5 separate regions of the Homo sapiens genome follow, and all the other regions are linked to region 1. Evidence: promoter capture Hi-C in 16 types of primary human blood cells and fetal thymus (Javierre and others, 2016). All regions are on one chromosome and are shown on one strand. The core of a region is centred on a gene start or on the middle of the fragment in contact, and the rest is flanking DNA. Distances in the headings are between cores, read along the strand shown. Region 1 holds the start of HMGCS1 (3-hydroxy-3-methylglutaryl-CoA synthase 1). Region 2 overlaps PTGER4 (prostaglandin E receptor 4). Region 3 overlaps TTC33 (tetratricopeptide repeat domain 33). Region 4 has its middle 10 kb from the start of PRKAA1. Region 5 holds the start of CARD6 (caspase recruitment domain family member 6).

Region 1 (3,058 bases), core at 170-2,669:
ATATGAAGTGAGTCATGGGCAATACTGTGGAATGGAAATCATTACTGAGTGGTCCTCTTCCCCCAAGTCATTTATGCCACCACTTCACAGTGGTTCCATTTCCAATATATTTTGCCACTTTGCTGCTGAGAATGTGTCTTACTAGGTTAGCATCTATAGTGGTTAAAAGAATCTCCCATAACAATAATTGTGTGAATCACAGAATTACCAATGACCCCTTATCAATAGCATTCCTGTTAATTAAATTGAGATGGGGAGAGATACAAACAACTCCGAACCTCACTCATGGTCCCCCACCAAAGCTAAGTATTATGGCTTCTCTCTCTGACCAGATAGAGGCAGAGTTTATTGCAAAGCCACAAGTGTCCTCCTTTGGATTCCCCCAAATAGTGTTTCAGTGAATTCCTCTAGCTTGAATTGCTCCTCTCTATTTGCTGGGGGAGTTAGGCAGTCCGTATCCGATGGATTTACTATGCCGACAATTACGTGGCCTTTCCACAGCCTTTTACTTGGCAGGTACCACATATGAAGCTTAGAAGATACAGTGGGCAACAGGCCAAATGGAGTCCCTTTCCTCAGAGTGCATGGCCTGGCAAAAATCCTTGAATTCAGTATCAACTTCCCTTCACAGGCAAGGCTCTGCACCCTCCCCACGGATGCCTAATCCTGAAACCATTTTGTTTTAGGTTTAGTTAGAAAGCTTTGTCTCAAGAGCACTTTTGTTTGTTCTGTTTTCTTTAAGTCAAGGTAGTTTTGAATAAAGGAGACAATATTTGAGTATTTACAAATCGGGTATTTAGACTATTTACACATATACAAGTTCTGGGTGAAGTATTCTGCTCCAATTTGCAATCTACGCACACTTTGCTAGAAAACGTTAAGACTGAATTCAAATCAAGTACAGTATTTCAGAAATCTTTCAGGTGAAGCCTAGTTCTGGTTGCTAGGCAACCTGACAGACTCCCAAGCTGGGACCACCTCGCCTCCCACATTTGACCATCTCTCCAGCGGTGGGACGCGGAGTACCCATTGGCCCGCATCTCCTCTCACTTAGTCCCAATTGGTCGGAGAACCTCTCACTCCGCTCCCGTTGGCTCTCGCCGTATCTCGCAGCTCCGTCATTGGCAACTGGGCTCTCGTGCCACCTCACGTCAGTCTCTCACACCACTTCCTCGGCCCTGAGACTTTGTCCCCGCCTCTTCTCCCCGCCCTTCCAGCCACGAGGGAAAATCCTAGCGAGTCATCGCCTCTAGTTTCCTTTTGATTGGTAGAAGCCGGACTGGGGGGCGGGCGCTGCCGGGCAACTCTACCGGCCGCGATTGGCTGTGGGAGCCACCGTCCCGCCTCCCAGCGACTCTCGGCGGTGCCGGAGTCGGGTGGGTTGGCGGCTATAAAGCTGGTGGCGAAGGGGAGGCGCCGCGGACTGTCCTTTCGTGGCTCACTCCCTTTCCTCTGCTGCCGCTCGGTCACGCTTGGTGAGTGTCCCGCGCTGGGGAGTAGAACTGGGCTGCGGAGGTGCCGCGGGCGGGGTGTGGGCCAGACAGAGGCGGTGTCCTTGACTAGGCCCGAAGGAGCTGGGGCTCTGGGTCAGGACGTAGGCGTGGACTTTGCCCGGGAGGATGGGGCACCGTGAGCGGGGCCGGGCGGGGGTTCCCTCGTGAGGGACCTGAGGCCGACCGTAGCGGATCTGAGAAGATCCGAGAACACAGGCGAGTCGCGGAGGGGAGAACGCGAGAGGGCGTTGAGGTCTAGGTATTCTAACGACAGAGGAGTTGGAGGTGCCAGAGAGGCAGCTGTGACCGCCTAGAGGTGAGTGGGGGGTGTCAGGAGGGGGAGAGAAGACAGTTGGGCTACCAAGGCGTTTCCAGAGCGTTGGTTAAGGGTGGACGCCAAAGGATGGGCAAGATCCTCTTTAGACGGAGGCTGGTAGGTTCGCAGGGGGTGTGTCCTGCTGCCACATATAGAGTTGATGGAAAGAAGGGAAGTGGGTAGCATTACTTTTCTTCCTCAGCTCAGGTGCAAGAAAGCGTTCACAACCGTGATTTAGACCTGGCTAAGTACTGGGGCTCAGTCTGTACTTGCTTCAAATCTCATAGATCACTGCCTCCCGCCTTCCTGCCTCCATATTTTTTTTTGTCTACGTTTTAAAAAATAGGCTTCCTTGGTGTTCTGAAATCCCACATCTCTCTCCTACTAATACCTTCGGGACCAGCTTTAGGTGATACAGTGTAATGGGCAGGCACTCACAGAGTCCTCCCACAAATAGGTTTTGGATTAAGCTAAGGATATTTCAAAGCAAGTATATGGAGTCTTTGAAAACCCACGTCTGGCCTTGACCAGTGGTAGAGAAACGATTATTCTGATCCACTCTGGAGGAGGGATTTGGGGAACAAATAATGTGAGGTTGTGCCTGTTTGTCATGCTTGTCCCTATGGCCTTAGCCTTAAGGCATCAGTAGCTGCTTTCACTGCTCACCTCTGCTGCAGCTCCCCACCTTCCCGAGGATGCTCTTGCCACCTGCTGCAGTAGGATGATGTGTTCTGGTTGCTGCTAACTAACATTTGCTCTGTTTTAGGCATGAATATGAAAAACAATGACAAGATAAACAACAAAATTAAGACAAATGGAAGTGCTCCTAGAGTTAACAGATTTTTCCTTCTGAGATGTGTTTTGGACTTTATTGCACAGATACTATTAGATGAGAGGCAGTTGAAAGTCGTTAACATTATCCGTGTCAGTAGTTCTTTGCACTTGAGACACCTAAGCAGCTTGTGTTCTTTAAACTTTATTTTAAAATTGCAGTTATTTTTGTGTGAAGAAGGGGGCAGGGATAGCATACCTTATGGGAAGAGAGAAAGGCTTTCTTTGTGTCTACCTTTGTAGATATTTCTCACCTAAGTTTGTAAGTTTGCCCTTTATTCGGTTCTACTTTAGTTCAGCTCAATTCTAGTATAATCATCAGTAACCCCAGCACTCAGAAGGTCTGACTTACGCTGTGGGGAGGGAGTGTAAAAGGATATTTTATGTTTGGAGCCATAGGCCACATCATTTGGGCCTT
Region 2 (3,058 bases), core at 141-2,640, 2.6 Mb after region 1:
AAATGATTCAGCGAATGGAGCATGAATTTGTGTAAACTTACATGATCATTTTAATCCTTAGGGGAAAATGCATTTGTTAAATGTACATGTATATATATTTTTGAGACAGGGTCTCACTCTGTCGCCCAGGCTGGAGTGCAGTGGTGTAATCATTGCTCACTGCAGCCTTGACCCCCTAGGCTCCAGCAATCCTCCTGCTGTAGCCTCCTGAGTAGCTGGGACTACAGGTGTGTGCCATCATGCCTGGCTAACTGTTATTATTTTTGTAGAGATGAGGTCTTTCTATGTTGCCCAGGCTGGTCTCTAACTCTTGAGCTCAAGTGATCTGCCCGCTGCAGTCTCCCAAAGTGCTAAAATTACAGGAGTGAGCCACCATGTTCAGCCTCAAATTTACTCTTAAAGTATTATGATTTTTTTTTGCCTAGATATTACTTCTAATTCCACTGGGATCATTTATATAAAAATCTCATCTGTAATTAATATAGAAATAGTAGTAGTGGTAATTCACATAGAAATAGAAATAGAAATAGTAGTATAGAAATAAAAATAATTGCCATATATCTTAAGTAATTATTTAGTAATTATTTCTTGCCTTTAGTAATTATTTTAGGTTAGGGAGAAGAGGTTGAGTCTCACAGTCAAGGAAGATACATAAAAACCACAAAAAGGAGAAAGAACTAACAAAAGCATAGCTGGAGCCATTTAACTAGGGGCAAATATCTCTAACAAGACTTGAGGATGTTGCTGCCTTACTATATACAGCGTAACAATGAATGACTCATGGTGTATGAATCACCTGGAACAGGGACAGTTTAGTTGAGGCTGAGTCAGTTCACAACGGAAAAGGCGATTCATTGACCATTTGCATGTGTTCCTTTGGCACTTACTAGATGTAACAATATTTGGGTCAGGATATTATAGAAAGATTTTCAACAATTTGGGTAAAATTTGGGTAAAAGAAGGAAGAATTATTTTTTTCTTCCTTTAAAGATTCTTTGAATCTTTAAAATATTCGAAGAAATACATTTCATTAATCTGCAAAATCAAGCTTATATTAAACTTACTCCTGGATGATACTGGATCAGTAAGGTAGAACTGCATTTCTTTTTCTTCCTTAACTGGAATTTAGATCTTAATTAGCTATAGGTCTCTGATCCTCTCTCAAAAGATTTTTGTTCATTTCCTTTGTTATTGTTTTGTTGTTATTCACTTGTTTTGTTTTGAGAACTTACACTCATTGCAAAATCTGACCTAAACTTATTTTGGCAGCAAAACTGAACTGAACAGACTGTGAAGCCATTTAGTTCAATTTATTCCACTTAGAGTGAATATTCCTATGTTCTGGTCCAGGATTACTGTTCCAGTTCTGATGGGGATATTACATATTTTGCAATATATTATTGATTACTTTTCTAAAAGCCAAGAAATTCTGAATTCTGAAACTCATCTGCCCGTAAATATTTTGGATATGGGATTATGGGCCTGTAAATCTCAGAGAATAAAATAGTGACATGCCTCTAACCAAGATGAAATTAATATCTTCCTATATGGAAGACAGCTAAATCAAGAATGAACTAGAATGAACAGCAGTGTGTAATATCGCCTCTTGAAATACTTTTAGAAACTACGCTGGGATAAATGATAGTATCAAGGCAAAGCATACTTGATTTAAAAAAAAATCTTTACAGAAAGTAAAATAAAGCATCTTGGTTTCTTCCTTCCATAAGCTTTGAGGTCTTCAGCTATGCCTGGAAACTCAGCAGTTCCCTCAACTCTACAGGCCTTTTCTCAGATGAGGTATTTGTTACTGAGACCCAGAGGTTTTGAGGAACTTAGGATGTCCCCCACCCTGTTGGTGGCAGAGTCTGGTCTGGACCTCCATGTTGCCTTTTCTGTTCTACCAGTCTGGCTTTCTGTTTAATTATTATTTCCTGACAATGGAATTGTTGGTAAAAAGCATGAGGTCTATATTTTATTCACATCACATACTACGTTCCTAAGGGTAGAAGAAATGATGGCGTTAAATCTGTTAGTATCAAGTCCTGTGTGTGGTCTCTGGAAAAGACCTACGGCCGGGTTTATGCGAACTTGAGCCTTCAAGCCTCCAGGTGGCAGTGTTGCTCCACTTGAGAGTTTCTGATACTACCTCCCTAACAAGCACTGTGTAAAGCCATCTCCGAGACTCGCAGAACAGAATTTTGGTTAAGTCTGAACCTGACGTTTCTGAGATTTTTGACACTGAAAATGTTTTATTGCTGGTTGCTTCTCCTACCACAACCTCAAAGGAAACATGGCTACTACTGAAAGGAAGAAAATTTTTGAATAGTTAAAATGGAATTTATAGCCATTCAAAGAAGTACATTAGGAGTTAGCATTTTAAAATTTCTGTGGCCTTTTAGAAAGGTTGGAATGTTGTAAAACAATTAATAATAGGTTTTCATAATCAAAGGTGATGAGAGGCAAGGAAAGAATCATTTCTGTGCCTCATCTCATCCACAGCAGCAATGGATTTCGACTAGTATAGGAGGGAATGAAAGGAGGCTATATTAAAAGTATGCTCTATTTTAAAGTTTTCCATGGGGGAGGAAAAGTTTACAATTAGTACAAGCCACTGAACCTGGTCATTCAATGTCTTTTCAATAAAGGGGAGTTCACAGGGTAGTAAAAGTATGAGTTTAAAAAGCAAAAGTCCAAATTCAGGTAAAAACATCCTCAAAAGTTGGTTAGATTGAAAAGAATCAATATGAGTTTTACTTTGCAGCGTATTTCAATTGAGACTTACTTCAAGTAGGGAAAGAAAAAAGACAAAACAAACAAAAACTCCACGCATCTTGCAATGTTTGAAAACATAGAGCAACCTCTGCTTCACTTTAAGTAGGCTACTTGATTTGCTGTTTCCAAGAGGGCAGGGACAACCCCAGTTGAGATGGGGACATCCGGAGTAGTGCTTCAATGTCTCGTGAGGGGGTGAAAGCACTTTTCGGAATTCTTGTCCAACAGGCCCTATATTTTACATAATTAAACAAGTTCAGGCAGTTTTCAGTGTTGGAAGAGTGTG
Region 3 (3,058 bases), core at 349-2,848, 2.6 Mb after region 1:
TGAAAGCCAATACAGGCTGAAAGCTAGGCCTCTTGCACCAAACAGCCAAGTGGTGAATGCAAAGGAAAAGTTCTTCAATGAAATTGAAAGTGCTACTTCAGTAAACACACAAATGATAAGAAAGCAAAAACCGCTTTATTGCTAATATGGAGAAGCTTTGAATGGTCTAGATAGATCAAACCAGCCACAATATTCCCTTAAGCAGGAGCCTCATTTAGAGCAAGTTTCTAACTCTCTTCAATTCTGTGAATGCTGAGAGAGGTGAAGAAGCTGCCAAAGTAAAGTTTGAAACTGCTAGAGGTTCGTTTGTGAGGTTTAAGAAGCCATTTTCATAACATGAAAGTGCAAAGTAAAGCAGCAAATGCTGATGTTATCCAGAAAAGATCTAGCTAAGATAATTGATGAAGTTGGCTACACTAAATGAGATTTTCTTTTTTTTTTTTTTTTTCTTTTGAGACGGAGTTTCACTCTGTTGCCCAGGCTGGAGTGCAATGGCATGATCTTGGCTCACTGCAACCTCCGCCTCCTGGGTTCAAGCGATTCTCCTGCCTCAGCCTCCCGAGCAGCTGGGACTACAGGCGTGCGCCACCACGCCCAGCTAATTTTTGTATTTTTAGTAGAGACAGGGCTTCACCATGTTGGCCAGGATGGTCTCTATCTCTTGACCTTGTGATCCTTCCGCCTTGGCCCCCCAAAGTGCTGAGATTACAGGTGTGAGCCACTGCGCATGGCCATAAGATTTTCAATGTGGATGACACAGGTTTCTATTGGAAGAAGATACTCTCCAGGACTTTCATAGCTGCAGAGAAGTCAATGCTTGGCTTTAAAGCATCAGAAGACAGGCTCACTCCTTTGTGAGGGCTAATGTAGCTGGGAACTTTAAATTGAAGCCAATGTCTATTTACCGTTCTCAAAATCCTGTTGCCCTTGAGAATTATGCTAAATGTACTTTGCCTGTGTTCTATAAATGGAACAACAAAGCCTGGATGATGGCACATCTGTTTACAGCATGGTTTACTGAATATTTTAAGCCCACTATTGAGACCTGCTCATGAAGAAAAGATTCCTTTCAAAATTTTACTGCTCATTGACAGTGCACCCTGTCATCCAAGAGTTCTGATGGAGATGTACAAGATTAATGTTGTTTTCATGCCTATTAACAACAGCATCTTTTCCTCAGCCCATGGATCAAGGAGCAATTTTCACTTTCAAGTCTTACTATTGAAGAAATACATTTTGTAAGGCTATAGCTGCCATAGATAGTGATTCTTCTGATTCATTTGGACAAAGTCAATTGAAAACTTTCTGGAAAGGATTCTAATTCTAGATAACCATTAGGAATATTTGTGATTCATGGGAGGTGGTCAAAATATCAACATTAACAGGAATTTGGAAGAAGTTGATTACAACCTTCATGGATAACTTTGAGGGGTTCAAGACTTCAGTGGAGGAAATAACTGCAGATGTGGTGGAAATAGTAAGATAACTCAAATTAGAAGTGGAGCCTGAAGATGTGACTGAATTCCTGCAATCTCATGATAAAATTTGAAAGGATGAGGAGTTGCTTCTTAGGGATGAACAAAGAAAGTGGTTTCTTGAGATGGAATCTACGCCTGGTGAAGATGCTGTTAACATGGTTGAAATGACAACAAAGGACTTAGAGTACATTATATAAACTTAGTTGATAAAGCAGTGGCAGAGTTTGACAGTATCGACTCTAATTTTGAAAGAAGTTCTGCTGTGGGTAAAATGCTACCAAATAGGACTGCATGCTACAGAAAAATTTTTTGTGAAAGGGAGAATCAGTCGATGCAGCAAACTTCATTGTTGTTGTTTTTTTTTTGGAGACAAAGTCTTATCCTGTCACCCAGGGTGCCAGGGTGGAGTTCGGTGGCATGGTCATGGCTCACTGCAGCCTTAACCTCCTGGGCTCAGGTGATCCTCCTGCCTCTGTCTCCTGAGTAGGTGGGACTACAGATGTGTACCACCACGCCTGGATAGTTTTTAAAAATTTTTTGTAGAGATGAGATTTCGCTGGTCTCAAACTCCTGGGCTCAAGCCCTCTACCTGCCTTAGCCTCACAAAGTGCTAGGATTACAGGCGTGAGCCAACATGCCTGACCGCTGTTGTCTTATTTTAAAAAATTGTCACAGCCACCAGCCTTCAGTAACCACCACCCTGATCAGTCAACAGCCATCAACATTGAGGAAAAACTCTCCATCAGTAAAAAGATTAGGACTTGCTGAAGGTTCAGATGATCATTGGCGTTTCTTAGCAATAAAATATTTTTAAATTAAGGCATGTACTTTTTTTTTTTTTTTTGAGATGGAGTTTCGCTCTGTTGCTCAGGCTGGAATGCAGTGGTGCAATCTCAGCTCACTGCAACCTCTGCCTCCCGAGTTCAAGCGATTCTCCTGCCTTAGCCTCCTGAATAGCTGGGATTACAGGCACATGCCACCACGCCCGGATAATTTTTGTATTTTTAGTAGAGACGGGGTTTCACCATGTTGGTCAGGCTGGTCTCAAACTCCTGACCTCGTGATCTGCCCACCTCAGCCTCCCAGAGTGCTGGGATTACAGGCGTGAGCCACTGCACCTAGCAAGGCATGTACATTTTTAAAGATATGATGCTATAACACTTAATTAGACTATAGTATAGTGTAAACATAACTTTTATATGCATAGGGAGACCAAAGCATTTGTGTGACCCACTTTTTAGTATTATTCACTTTATTGCAGTGGTCTGGAACTGACCGTGCAACAACTCTGAGATAGGCCTGTACTTATACATCACTTCAGCCATGTGCATCAGTAATGAAGACCTTGAAACCTGCTCGAACTTATGCAGTATTTCATTTCTCTCCCTCCCATACTCCCACAGTGCCCATTCTTTGGTAGTTTCATAAAGCCCTCTGATTCGTTGCTTTTCTTTTCTTTATGTTTTTTGGTTCATTGCTTTTTTTCTCTGTTTCTCTAGTTGATCATTTGATCAAAATCTCCTTGTGGTTATAGACTCCTTTAAGAATGGAATGAAAGCTTAAACACTATTCTCCAAAAT
Region 4 (3,058 bases), core at 284-2,783, 2.5 Mb after region 1:
TGAGACTGAACCCTTAACCTATGGGATCTGGCATTACCTCTAAGTAGACAAACATAGAAATAAGTCAGAACGGAATTATAGGACATGCAGTTGGTGTCTGCTGGAGAATCTGGTGTCAAAAGTGTTGTATTGAGTGGTGTTTGAAACTATAAAAAAGTGTTTTTTTTTCCCCTATCTCATTCAGTTGCTGTAACAGAATACCATAGACTGGGTGGCTTTATAAACAACAGAAATTTCTCACAGTAATGGAAGCTGCAAGCTTGAAATCAGGGTGCCAGTATGGTTGGGTTCTGATGCGGGCCTCCTTTGGGTTTGCAGACTGCTGACTTTTTGTTGTAGCCTCATGTGGTGAAAGGAAAGAGCCAGAGACTTCTCTGGAGTCGCTTTCATTTATGAGGGCTCTACCTTCATGACCTAATTACCCACCAAAGACCCACCTCCTAATATAATCACACGGAGAATTAGAATTTCAATACATGAATTTTGGGAGGGACACAAACATTCAATCCATAACATCTAAGTATAAGACAAGGCTCGGAGCAGTGGCTCATGCCTGTAATCCCAGCACTTTGGGAGGCCAATGCAGGTGGATCACAAGGTTAGGAGTTCCAGACTAGCCTGGCCAACATGGTGAAACTCCATCTCTACTAAAAATACAAAAATTAGCACTGCTACAGGTGGCACACACCTGTAGTCCCAGCTACTTGGGAGGCTGAGGCACAAGAATCGCTTGAACCCAGGAGGCGGAAGTGGCAGTGAGCCGAGATCCCGCCACTGCACTCCAACCTGGGCGACAGAGCGAGACTCCAATCTAAAAAATAAATAAATAAATAAATACATAAATACATAAATAAAGTATCCTGGATGGGATCCTAGAACAAAAAAAGGAACTTAGGTAAAAACTAAGGTGTGGAATAAAGTGAAGACTTTAGTTACTCATAATATATCAATATTGATTGGTTCACAAATCATAACAAATGTACTACAGAATGTAAGGTGTTGATAATCGGGAAAACTGCATGTAGGGTATATGATAACTCTATATTAGTTTCACAATTTTTCTGTAAATCTAAAGCTGTCCTGAAAAATAAAGTCTATTTTCAAAAAGCATTTGGGAAGGCAGGGCACTGTGGCTCATGACTGTAATCCCAGTACTTTGGGTAGCCGAGGTGGGCGGATCGCCTGAGGTCAGGAGTTCGAGACCAGCCTGGCCAACAGGGTGAAACCCCATCTCTACCAAATATACAAAAATTAGCCAGTCATGGTGGCCGCATCTGTGGTCCCAGCTACTTGGGAGGCTGAGGTGGAAGAATCACTCGAGCCTGGGAGGCAGAGGTTGGAGTGAGCTGGAATCGTGCCATTGCACTCCAGCCTGGGTGACAGAGTGAGACTCCATCCCCCAAAAACAAAACAAAACAAACAAACCAGAAAGTATTTGGGAAGCTTAGAGAATAATATCCAGCAAAGTAAGTAATAAATAAACAAGAAAATAAGGATCTTAGAGGAAGGAAAGTAAGATAAATCAAGGGATGAGGTTAGAATACTAAAATGCATGCCTTTAAGTGACTACATCTTTGTTAGAGTTAGCTGTCAGTGTGAGTCAGCTGAATTGAAAAAGCTTTGCAGATTTGTTTCTTAGAACATCCCCCAGGGCCTGAGGTTGGAGGGCAGCAGCACAAGGTTGGAGGGAGCTGAGCTGGGCCAGCTGCACAGGAGGTAATCTATAAGTGATATTATACACACCACCACCACCACCCCCAACCCGCCCCCTGAGGCCTGAAAACATCACTAGAATTTCTATTTACCTGAGCTTCTTACCTGAGCTCTTCTCAGAGGGATGTGGTTAAACAGAACTACTTTGACAAACCACTTGGTCAGGGGCGGATAAAACTCCCCAACCCACAAACACACGTCTAAGAAGTCAGAGTCTGGTTACCACAAGGTCATTGTTTGCTGGGGCACTGATCCAGCCGTCCTCTTTCTCTGCCTTTCCACTCAAATAAATGTTGGACAGATTTTTTTTTTCTTTTGAGACAGAGTCTCGCTGTGTAGCCCAGGCTGGAGTGCAATGGCACAATCTTAGCTCACTGCAACCTCTGCCTCAAGCGATTCTCCTGCCTCAGCCTCCGGAGTAGCTGGGACTACAGGCGCGTGCCACCATGCCTGCCTAATTTTTTGTATTTTTAGTAGAGATGGAGTTTCACCGTGTTAGCCAGGATGGTCTCGATCTCCTGACCTTGTGATCCTCCCGCCTCGGTGGACGGATCCCAAAGTGCTGGGATTACAGGGGTGAGCTACCGCGCCCAGCTAATGTTGGATAGATTTTTAAATAATTTTGTTTTGAGGGAGACTAAATTCCTGGTTTGAATGGAGAGTCAAATAATTAGCTTACTAAAGGCATCTACATGTTTATCAGCTCTTTGTACTACCAAAGTATAATTCAGTAAAAGCAATTCTAACAGTGACCAAAAAACAGGACAAATTACTCTCCCTTGCTATTGGTCTCAAATGATCCAAGGGTACAGTTTAGGCTATCAGCATATTCTTCAGGTGCCCATCCAAGGATATACTTTCTCTTAGCTGATAAGAATAGGGCACCAAAGAATTTAGAGTTACGTCTTCTGGCAAATGAATATAATTTGTACTGCTGATTATGTATAGATCCATACGTCTGATAATCAGCAAGTCAACTGAGGGGTGGACAGGGTTGATATCTTCTTATTAACACTAAGGAATCCAACCAGGACTAACCAACCACATCCACATGGAGATGGGCCGACAGAGTCCTTGTGAACGGTGCCAAGATTTTCCCTAGAAGACAGTTATGGGAAAACTGTGTGGCTCACGCCTGTAATCCCAGCACTTTGGGAGGCCAAGGTGGGTGCATCACGAGGTCAGGAGTTCGAGACCAGCCTGCCCAACATAAGTGAAACCCTGTCTGTATGAAAAATACAAAAATTAGCCAGGCATGGTGATGCGCACCTGTAGTCCCAGCTACCTGGGAGGCTGAGGCAGGAGAATCACTTGAAACCGGGAGACGGAGGTTGCAGTGAGCCAA
Region 5 (3,058 bases), core at 177-2,676, 2.5 Mb after region 1:
CTTCACCATCATATCCAACGTGCTCTGGGTCATCATAAACCTCCTCTTCCACAGTGGCTTCTGCATCTTCAGGGGTGTCAACAGATCCTAGATATTCCTCTTTTCCTAAGTATAAAGAATCATCTAGCTCCTCATATCTCTGTCCATCTTTTATATATGTAATAGTTGCTGGAACTTCACATCCAACTTTCTCAACTGAATATGATAATGTGACTTCTGGTGTGTCATATTCCTTCTCATTCTTCCTGGCAGACAAAGCTGTTTCCCTATAACTAGTTTTCTTGTCCCTGAAAAACTCAGAGGTTTCCAAATCCAAGTGTTCCTTCTCACTGAAGAACACTGTGATCTCAGGGGCTTCAGGCTGTTTTATTCCAGGAGAAAAAGCATCTTCTGAATTACTGCTTGCCCCCATAGATTGAGGAGGTACTGTATTCTCATGTTTTAAAACTTCTGCAAAGAAAAGAATTGTTTTTCCCAATTAAGAAAAAGAAGCTGTATAACAGCTAGAGTTCCTGAGGCCTCAAAGCTTCATCCCTCTCCTTTTATTTATTTATTTATTTTTTGAGACAGAGTTTCACTCTTGTTGCCGAGGCTGGAGTGCAATGGCACGATCTGGGCTCACTGCAACCTCAACCTCCCGGGTTCAGGTGATTCCCCTGCCTCAGTCTCCCAAGTAGCTGGGATTACAGGCATGCGCCATGATGCCCAGCTAATTTTTGTATTTTTAGTAGAGACAGTGTTTCACTATGTTGGTCAGGCTGGTCTCAAACTCCTGACCTCAGGTGATCCATCTGCCCCGGCCTCCCAAAGTGCTGGGATTACAGGTGTGAGCCACAGCGCCCAGCCACCTCTTATTTCACTGGAGGACAGGAATACCTAACACCTCCTATATAACTTGCATGTCAACATGTCAACTTTCAGAACTTTCTTTTTTCCACTAAAAAAAAAAATCAGATCACACCACTGTCTTGCTTAAAGTTTGAGTCCTTCCTAGCAACCTTACAGGGTAAGTGAATAAAACGAAAAATTTGAATCATATGAACAGTGTTTACTTGTGGACTTACTGTGACTCACAACAGACTCACGTCTCTTGGGGTCATTGCTAATGAAATCTGATCACAAATAATTTCTAATCAGTAAGCAAATGGCTCTATTTGGAATAGTGTGCTTTAGAAATAATAAAAGAAAAATTTCTAAGCATATAAATCTTGTCCTAAATTAGGTATCACTAACATTCACCTTTTTATCTGAGCCTCTACCTCTCTAACATCCCTTAAAATAATTTTGAATTTTTTTTTAGATTCCTAGAAAAAGAGCTAGACCTAGTCCTAGTAGTAATTTACAGAATTGCTAAATAACTGGAAGAATTGCTTTTTCATGGACTACTAGTTATCTTTGAACCATTTAAGAATTAGCACTGGAATTGCTCCAGAAAACAGCTGCTGCTGGCATTCTTATCACCAAAAAAATGAAACTACTGATTTGCCATCTATGTGTTAAAAATTATTTTCCTTGTATTTTCAAAACGGCTATACTAAGTGAAAGATACAGCTTGTGGTCTTGGCACTGTAAATATCCACGAATTCATCTACTTGAAAAACAAACCCTGGATTGTGTTATTATTAAAGTATTTTCCTTCCAACTGTGAGATTTTAGCATGTTACTGCCAGAATAATGAGCAGTTTGTTAGCACTAAAACAACTTCAAGTTTTGAGTACAGTCTGAAAAACAAATTATCGATTCAGTAGACCAATAAGATGTTAAATTTCAGAAACTTTTTAAATTCCAGTTTTTCCCTATTTCATATTTCAATGAAAATTATCTCCAGAAAAAGACTAACAAAAATAAAAGGCAACAATTTTCTTTCATTTTGTTTTCTTTTTCAGAAAGTCTGCCCCCTTCCTCTCACCCCAAAAAGTATACAAAGTCAACTTACCATGCCTTAAGCCGCAAATGGCAGCTGACTGTGGAAAAGTACTAAATAAACACTTGAGAAAATGCTGACAGGTCGCCTCTCCCTTTTTCTGTACCAAAATTAACAGCTTCCGACTTTTCTTCAGGAGATCTGTAACATTCTCCAGAGTCTCATACTCTTCCTCAGAAATCAGCCTCCGAGAAGTTAACGTGTCTAAGATAGAATCAGGATCATGTTGAAGGATTTCAAGCAACTTTTTTCTTTCTCTTTCTATGATCTCTGAGGGAGTACTCTCGGTAGCCATTGTTCCTGTTTCCTCTAAACCAGGAAATATATTATGAAATCATCCTAATGAATAAGTAAAAGTTAAAAAAAGAATGACAAAGAACAATTCTATTTGGCTAAGCTTTAACATGTCAATGATGCCTAGTGTTGGAGAGTGCAGATACAAGCACAGTGGGGCAACCCAGCTCGGAGCACTCTCTGATCCGGGGTCCTTGTGGATTATTTATCTGCTCTTTTGAAGTCTTGATAAATTCTCACCATGACTCAGACCCAGGGTCACCTCCTCCAAGAAGTCGCTCTTGAACTTCAGGTTGGACTAGGTATTCCCTGCTCAGAGAACTATACTATGATGCCAAGAATGTAAATTATTAATTGATATTTGGTGGGCAATATGGCAATATACAGCAATAAATAAATAAAGTTGAAGACAGACAAAAATAAAACTTCATATCCTTCAACCCAGCAATTCCAGTTCTAGGAAATTATCTTAAGGAAATAATTGAGCAAATGCCCGAAGATGTATGTACAAGAATCTGCATTACAACATTGTTTACAACAGTACAAAATTGAAAATAACCAAAGTTGGGGTTTAGGGAATAAATATTGACATGTCGACAGTGAAACACCAAAGAACTGTTAAAAAGGATAAAGTACATCTCTACATATTGACAAGTAATGATATCCATGATATATTGCTATGGAAACAGCAAGTTATAGATCTCATTTTTGTTTTAAAAAACTTAATGTGTATATAGTATATGTATATAATATGTATATGCAGATATGCATTATATTTTAAAGAAGACAAGAGATATCCCAAATTTTAACACTGGTTATCTCTGAGAATATGACTACAGG

What was found. The method cuts DNA at HindIII sites, captures the fragments that hold promoters and counts their contacts. A CHiCAGO score of 5 or more calls a contact.
Region 2: a fragment that was not itself captured here is called in contact with the fragment with the promoter of HMGCS1 in region 1 in 1 of 17 cell types (fetal thymus); the score reaches 7.6 in fetal thymus.
Region 3: a fragment that was not itself captured here is called in contact with the fragment with the promoter of HMGCS1 in region 1 in 1 of 17 cell types (total CD4 T cells); the score reaches 6.3 in total CD4 T cells.
Region 4: a contact is called between a fragment that was not itself captured here and the fragment with the promoter of HMGCS1 in region 1, in 1 of 17 cell types (total CD4 T cells). The highest score is 5.1, in total CD4 T cells.
Region 5: a contact is called between a fragment that was not itself captured here and the fragment with the promoter of HMGCS1 in region 1, in 1 of 17 cell types (naive B cells). The highest score is 5.0, in naive B cells.

Annotation. Positions count from the first base shown.
Region 1 is chr5:43,311,773-43,314,830 of GRCh38, reverse strand. It overlaps HMGCS1 (3-hydroxy-3-methylglutaryl-CoA synthase 1), which reads left to right and starts at 1,419. Exons shown (of 11, transcript NM_001098272.3): 1 at 1,419-1,475. RefSeq lists enhancers at 1-506, 507-1,023, 1,030-1,259, 1,510-1,649. The HindIII fragment of the contact is 3,835 bases long and covers 703-3,058 here.
Region 2 is chr5:40,687,384-40,690,441 of GRCh38, reverse strand. All of the region lies in intron 2 of PTGER4 (prostaglandin E receptor 4), which reads right to left. Among named protein-coding and RNA genes, the nearest start is that of PTGER4, 9.0 kb to the right of the region's middle. The HindIII fragment of the contact is 679 bases long and covers 1,051-1,729 here.
Region 3 is chr5:40,749,352-40,752,409 of GRCh38, reverse strand. The region is part of intron 1 of TTC33 (tetratricopeptide repeat domain 33); the gene reads left to right. Among named protein-coding and RNA genes, the nearest start is that of TTC33, 5.1 kb to the left of the region's middle. The HindIII fragment of the contact is 2,881 bases long and covers 158-3,038 here.
Region 4 is chr5:40,807,080-40,810,137 of GRCh38, reverse strand. No RefSeq gene overlaps it. Among named protein-coding and RNA genes, the nearest start is that of PRKAA1, 10 kb to the right of the region's middle. The HindIII fragment of the contact is 175 bases long and covers 1,446-1,620 here.
Region 5 is chr5:40,840,544-40,843,601 of GRCh38, reverse strand. It overlaps CARD6 (caspase recruitment domain family member 6), which reads right to left and starts at 2,235. Exons shown (of 3, transcript NM_032587.4): 1 at 1,937-2,235; 2 at 1-450. The coding sequence starts at 2,219. The HindIII fragment of the contact is 1,795 bases long and covers 529-2,323 here.